Regions from separate parts of the Homo sapiens genome. Here region 1 is linked to region 2. Evidence: promoter capture Hi-C in 16 types of primary human blood cells and fetal thymus (Javierre and others, 2016). All regions are on one chromosome and are shown on one strand. Each heading gives the region's core, a stretch centred on a gene start or on the middle of the fragment in contact. The rest is flanking DNA. Distances are from core to core; before and after follow the strand shown. Region 1 holds the start of UHMK1 (U2AF homology motif kinase 1). Region 2 holds the start of DUSP23 (dual specificity phosphatase 23).

Region 1 (3,620 bases), core at 576-3,075, 2.7 Mb after region 2:
ATCCTTTCTATGAGAAATGTAGGCCGGGTTTTATTTTTCGGGTTCCTAGTGGTGAGGTAAGGTGAGGTGCCTCAACAAGAAAAAGGACCAGTTTTGGCTTCAGGTCTATGTGAAAGCGGTTAACACTGGGCCTGGAATGGTAGATACTCAATAATTAAGGTTACTTCTTATTCTCGGTTCTTTTTTCCAAACCTAGCGCGTCTAATCTCTTCTAGGCCCCGCCCCTTCTGAGCCCCCCCTCCTTCGGCCTGTATGATAGGCTCTTCCTCCATTTCCGGCTTCTGGGACTCGGGTGCACCACGGCTTCCGGTGTCATGGCTGCTTGAAGTCCCGGGAGTCGGTGAGGCGGCTGCAGGTCCCTCCCTGCGGAGCCGCTGGTCCGGCTGGCGGAGATGTGACCGCGGGCCCGGCCGGCCTGCCTCAGGCGTCGCGTCAGCTCCCGTGTCCGTGCCCTTAACCCACACCGATGGCGGGATCCGGCTGCGCCTGGGGCGCGGAGCCGCCGCGTTTTCTGGAGGCCTTCGGGCGGCTGTGGCAGGTACAGAGCCGTCTGGGTAGCGGCTCCTCCGCCTCGGTGTATCGGGTTCGCTGCTGCGGCAACCCTGGCTCGCCCCCCGGCGCCCTCAAGCAGTTCTTGCCGCCAGGAACCACCGGGGCTGCGGCCTCTGCCGCCGAGTATGGTTTCCGCAAAGAGAGGGCGGCGCTGGAACAGTTGCAGGGTCACAGAAACATCGGTAATTGCCGCTGTCTCCTTTCTCTTCTTGCCCAGGTCACAGTCCGAGCACACTCTTCCTCTCGCTGTCTGGCGTTCCATCTTCCTCCCCTTCTGCGGGAGAAGCGGGTTTAGCCCTCTTTATCACCCCATCCAGGCCCCTTTCCCCTTTCACTTTATTACTGTCTGCGGTATAGTGGAGTTGGTGGTCTGCTTTGCCAGGTGTCACATAGATGCTCAGTAAATTGTCTTGCTTCGAGTCTCATCGGAGAATGCCGCATTCATTAGCATACAGAAATATCTTTTCTAGTGAGAGGAGGCATGTCTTTGCTAGATTGTCGTGTCTTGTGTGGAAATTTTTGAATCTTTGCATACCAGTAGAAAATGGGAACTACGTCTGGGCCTTGTGACATCAATGCTAGTAACTCGTATAGCTCACCTATTATATCTTTAGTACGGATTTGGAAGAAATGATGCACTATTCCATGGGAGCCTTTATAGAAGTGTGAAATTTAGGAACACTATACCTTTGCTCTCTTGAGACTGTTTCAAGAATCAGATACTCAGAATGTAAGATATGTAATGATCACTGATGATTGATCTGTGAAAAGGTTTCATTTTCATTACACGACAGAAAGCTTATCATTAGTTATAGCTTTGGTTATTAAAGAAAAGTCTTATTTCCTAGCAAGTATGATGCATAGTTAATTTGAAGAGTGAGTTTTTTTATAATATCATTTTGGAGAAGAATTAACACTAGTGCTACATTTTTTTAGTTTACTAAATGGTCTGTTACTATAACCTTGGTATTGAAAAGGGAAAAATTTTGCAAGCCTAGGGACTTGCCTGATCTCTGCAAGATTAAAATTTCATCCGAAAAGTCTTAATCTCTTTGTTAGTATTTAGATTATAGAGAGCTGTTTATTTTTGTTTTAGTTTTTTTTTTTGAGACAAGTTCTTACTCTGTCACCCAGGCTGGAGTACAATGGCGAGATCACAGTTCACTCCAGCCTCCAATTCCTCCTAAAGCCATGCTCCTACCTCAGCCTCCCAGGTAGCTGGGACTACAGGCACGTAGCACCAAGCCTGGCTAATTTTTTGTAGAGAAGAGGTCCCCTTTTGTTACCCAGGCTGGTCTCCAAACTCCTGGGCTCAAGCAGTCCTCCTGCCTCGGTCTCTCAGAATGCTGGGATCACGGGCATGAGCCACCGTGGCAGACCTAGACTGCTGTTTTGGATGAAGAAGCAATGTTTAGTTTGGTTTTTGCGCATTGTGACATTCCTTTTAAAAGAGTTACTTAATATTTGGGTTTTTACTTTTAAAAATTTCTTTTTTTTTAAAGGACCTCATGATGCAACAGTAAGTTTTATTTATTTATATTTAGGTTTTTTACTTTTAATCATTTTTGCTTGGCACTCCAAGTTCGTGTTCATCACCAATGAGTACTTGGTGAAACACAAATTGAATAATTGTACCATATTTAGTATCTGTGAATGGTAATCAGCTGTTGTAGGCTGTCTCATCTTATTTTTATTAAAATAACCCAATTGCCAAAAGATCTTATTCATGGGAAAAATAAATTACAGTGGAAGCTTGCTCATCAAAGTTATCCTTATCTAGACTATCTCAAATTTGTACTGCAGTTACCTACTTTAGTAGTGACTTACTCTGAGTCTGATTTTTAAAGTATTATAATTTCTTTTTCTAGTGACTTTGTATGGAGTGTTTACAATCCACTTTTCTCCAAATGTGCCATCACGCTGTCTGTTGCTTGAACTCCTGGATGTCAGTGTTTCGGAATTGCTCTTATATTCCAGTCACCAGGGTTGTTCCATGTGGATGATACAGCATTGTGCCCGAGATGTTTTGGAGGCCCTTGCTTTTCTTCATCATGAGGGCTATGTCCATGCGGACCTCAAACCACGTAACATATTGTGGAGTGCAGAGAATGAATGTTTTAAACTCATTGACTTTGGACTTAGCTTCAAAGAAGGCAATCAGGTAAGAAATAACCTTTTCTTTTCTCTCGCAGTTTAAAATGTAGTGGTTGAAGCCAAATATTTTTAAATGACAAGGGTAGTTTAGTAGGGGCTTACAAGTCATTTTAACCTAAATTACTGAAATGCCAGGGGATGCAGTAAATCAAAAGAATTTCAGTGCCACCGTGTAAAAAAAGGACATAATGTTTGGGTCAGGTAGGAGGAGCCAGTGAAGCATGAGAGCTCTGGAATTATTAAAAGTACTTAACCTACATAGAATGGTTTTTTAAATTTTATGCGTGTTTGGCTAATTGCTGAGTTACTATTCCTGGTCTCTTCAGTGTTGGGGCTGTATCTCGTGGCAGAATGCATATGATAGTTCTGCCAAATCCTCTTTTCTCCATGGTTTATCATTTCTTTGCAGTGTCCTTATTATCAGCAGTGCCTAATAGGTAAGAGACAATCCAAAGAAGACTTCTTTATGAGCGCTATATGGAAATGTACAGCTTGCCTCTGAGAACTGCCCAGTTAATGAACCAAAGAATTATGGTAATCAAGGACTAAAAATTTTTAGCATTTAGCTTGGCAGTGGGTTTACTGCACTCTTAGGGAAGTAAATTCACTGTAGAGATGGATAGAAAGGGAGCAGCTTTTTTATTGGTTGTAATATTTACTCATCTTTTTTAGGATGTAAAGTATATTCAGACAGACGGGTATCGGGCTCCAGAAGCAGAATTGCAAAATTGCTTGGCCCAGGCTGGCCTGCAGAGTGATACAGAATGTACCTCAGCTGTTGATCTGTGGAGCCTAGGAATCATTTTACTGGAAATGTTCTCAGGAATGAAACTGAAACATACAGTCAGATCTCAGGAATGGAAGGTAAACTTCACCAGTGCTTTGCTTTGGGGTCCTTACTTTCAACTTAAGAG
Region 2 (3,485 bases), core at 586-3,085:
CACATAGGAGGGTAGGGAGTGAAGTGGAAACTTCCCTGGTGAGTAGGGGAAGCAAAGAAAGGAGAACAAGGCAAAGGGACTAAGAAAAGATTAACTTACAAGAACAAATGCTAGAGTCTTGTCTCCAGAGGTAGTGCAACCAGAAATCCTGAAGAGCAGTTGAATTGAGAAGAGAAGTGGGAGGTCAGGGGGTTGGGGGAAGAGGTGACTGGTGGCTGAGAGGCCATGGCTGGGAAAGAGAGAAAGGAATAAACTGGGGAGGGCTGGTAACCTTGATAGGAATTTATGTAGGAAATGAGAGTGCAAACAGGAAGGGCTTAATGAGGGCTGTGATTGTCTGGAAGGAGAAAAAGGGGAGATTTGGCACCTCCTGGAACCTGGGGAAAGTAATTGTCTGGGTAAATGGTAAGTGTATTTCCCACAGGGTCAGAGCAGGCTTTGATCTTTAGGAGAAGACAAATTGCTTTCCATCTTGCTGAAGCCAAAGGCTTAAATGGTCAGACGTGTGTCATAGGTGGGTGCAAAGGGAAGGAAATATAATACATCCTCATGGCCAAGTGCCCTGGGCTTGGATCACTGTGTCCTTGGCCAAGTTAACCAACTTCTTTAAGCTTCCAATGATTCATGTACAAAAAAAGATACAAAAATACCTTTCACATGTGGTTCTTCCAGAAAGCGCTTGGCACAGGGCCTGGTACATAAACAAATTCAATAAGGGTTAACTATTTTCATAATTACAGTTAGTCTGCATCGCTAGAAGCACATTATTCAAATGAGGATATGGACTGGTCAGATGACAGTGGAAACGGTGTTCAGATCTAGGGGCCCCCACCTAGTAAGAACAACACTAATCAACTCTAGCCTGCCCAGGGGACAGTGACCCAGAGAACTAGGAAACCTTGAAAAATGAAGAAATATGAAATACTAATAAAAATTAAGAAAACCCACAAGCGTTTAACCCAGATAATATTTGGGGACATGAGGGGGTTATGTGAAGAGAAAACAATGTTCCATTTAACTTTAGGAAATGGCGATATTATTAAAGATTTTGGAGGCATTAGTCATCATCCTTTGGTCAAGTTTATTAACCTCTCCAGTGCCTCTGTTTTTTCATCCATAAAATGGGATTCACTAGATCACCTATCTTATAAGATTACTGTGGCAATTAAATGAGTCAGTATGTGCTAAGTGCTTAGAAGACTATCTAGCACATAATAAATGCTCAATAAGTCCTGAGGAGCAACTGGATTGACAGGAGAAGTTGGTGCTGGTTATTATTATTACTATAATTATTACCCTGGGTAAGTTTTTAATAGTTCCAGCAATGAAAAAATGAGAATAGCCTCCTTGCAGCAGTAATTCCCTCTTACTGGAACAGTTCAAAAAGTCGCTGATAACGACCAGTCAATCATTAGAGAGGAGACTCCTCGTCCTGGGAGAAAGCCGATTTGTCATCTCTTAAACCCCAGGGCATCCAGCGTGAAGGAGGTAGAACTAGGCCGGCCCGCGAGGAGGCAGGGGCAGGCGCCAGTGACGCAATGACTGCAACATGCCGCCAGGGTGCAGCAGAGCCCGACCCCGGGTTGTTCCATCCGCAGCAAACAATTCCTAACTCGCTCCAGGTCTTCCTTCTTAGCTGAGTGGGTTGAACCCCGTGGAAGTAACCCCCCGCCCATTATGATGATCCAGCCAATCACCGCGTGATCTGCTCGGACGGGGCGGGATCGCGGCGCTTCCCTCGGTCGCTCAGAGACTGGGTTCCGCGTTCCAGCCCCGCCCCAGGTTCTGGGCCAATCCCCGCGGCTGGGCAGAGCGACCCGAGGGCGGCGCCCTGCAGACCACGTGGCCCGGGAGGCGCCGAGGCCAGGTAGGTGGTGAGTTACTTGGCTCGGAGCGGGCGAGGGGACGCGTGGGCGGAGCGGGGCTGGCCAGCCTCGGCCCCCATGACCCGCTGTCCTGTGCCCTTTCCCAGCGATGGGCGTGCAGCCCCCCAACTTCTCCTGGGTGCTTCCGGGCCGGCTGGCGGGACTGGCGCTGCCGCGGCTCCCCGCCCACTACCAGTTCCTGTTGGACCTGGGCGTGCGGCACCTGGTGTCCCTGACGGAGCGCGGGCCCCCTCACAGCGACAGCTGCCCCGGCCTCACCCTGCACCGCCTGCGCATCCCCGACTTCTGCCCGCCGGCCCCCGACCAGATCGACCGCTTCGTGCAGATCGTGGACGAGGCCAACGCACGGGGAGAGGTCAGCGGGCGGGGTCAGCGCAGGGAGGGAGGGGCCTGGAAGGTCAGCGGGGGACACGGGCGGAGCTGGGGAGACCGGGCCTGGGATAACTTAACTGGGCTCGGGGAGGCAGACAGTAGGGCCGGGAGACTGGGAAGCCAGTGCGGGGGAGGGAAGCGCTAAACGGAAGGAACTAAAGAGAGGGCGAAGCAGTGCGAACTGGGCTTGAGGAGAGGCAGTGAAAACCAGCTAATACTGTGAGTTGTGAAGGAGAAGGGTGTGGACAGACACCTGGGAGAGGTGGGGGTTGAAGTCAGGTGGAGGCTGTTTACCATTTTCTAGAGTAAAGCTGTCCAAATATAATGGAACCTAAGTGGCTCCATGTAATGTTAATTTTTCTAGCAACGGCATTCTTAAAAAGCAGGGAAGCAGATAAAATTAACTTTGGTGATCTTAATGAGATATTTTCATTCTTTTTTCTACTACCTCTTCATACCCTGTTGCGTTTTTCACACTACATCTCAGTTTGGACTAGCCACATTTCGAGTACAGTAGCCACAGTAGCCGTGGCTACTGTCTTCTGTATTGAACACCACAGGTGGAGGGCTGTGTAGAGGTGGACAGCTCTTGAACCAGCCAGTGCAGAGGCCTCCTAGCCACCTAGTGCAGGGACAGCCCTCCCTGACTTTGCTGCAGAGCCCTGGACCTGGCACAGAAGAAGGAGCTGTGGGGAGAACCAAGTGAGGGGCAGGAAACAGTTGTGGGTGGGGGAGTTGAGTGGCACCCATCGAGCCCCCTCTTCGTAGGCTGTGGGAGTGCACTGTGCTCTGGGCTTTGGCCGCACTGGCACCATGCTGGCCTGTTACCTGGTGAAGGAGCGGGGCTTGGCTGCAGGAGATGCCATTGCTGAAATCCGACGACTACGACCCGGCTCCATCGAGACCTATGAGCAGGAGAAAGCAGTCTTCCAGTTCTACCAGCGAACGAAATAAGGGGCCTTAGTACCCTTCTACCAGGCCCTCACTCCCCTTCCCCATGTTGTCGATGGGGCCAGAGATGAAGGGAAGTGGACTAAAGTATTAAACCCTCTAGCTCCCATTGGCTGAAGACACTGAAGTAGCCCACCCCTGCAGGCAGGTCCTGATTGAAGGGGAGGCTTGTACTGCTTTGTTGAATAAATGAGTTTTACGAACCAGGGCACGTTGCATGGTACTTTATAAAGCATTCCCACACATTAACTTACTTCAGCCTCACTGTAGCCCTGT

Evidence for each region. Contacts are between HindIII fragments. The CHiCAGO score rates a contact against its expected background, and 5 or more counts as called.
Region 1: a fragment that was not itself captured here is called in contact with the fragment with the promoter of DUSP23 in region 2 in 2 of 17 cell types (total CD8 T cells and naive CD4 T cells); the score reaches 5.6 in total CD8 T cells.

The regions. Positions count from the first base shown.
Region 1 is chr1:162,497,535-162,501,154 of GRCh38, forward strand. It overlaps UHMK1 (U2AF homology motif kinase 1), which reads left to right and starts at 284. Exons shown (of 8, transcript NM_175866.5): 1 at 284-734; 2 at 2,421-2,713; 3 at 3,379-3,570. The coding sequence starts at 467. RefSeq lists enhancers at 20-520, 255-334, 521-1,021. The HindIII fragment of the contact is 954 bases long and covers 1,349-2,302 here.
Region 2 is chr1:159,779,127-159,782,611 of GRCh38, forward strand. DUSP23 (dual specificity phosphatase 23) reads left to right here and starts at 1,836. Exons shown (of 2, transcript NM_001319658.2): 1 at 1,836-2,241; 2 at 3,027-3,417. The coding sequence starts at 1,975. The coding sequence ends at 3,212. It overlaps LOC101928264 (a long non-coding RNA gene), which reads right to left and starts at 255. Exons shown (of 3, transcript XR_922193.3): 1 at 100-255. RefSeq lists a silencer at 1,771-2,160 and an enhancer at 2,152-2,728. The HindIII fragment of the contact is 4,062 bases long and covers 610-3,485 here.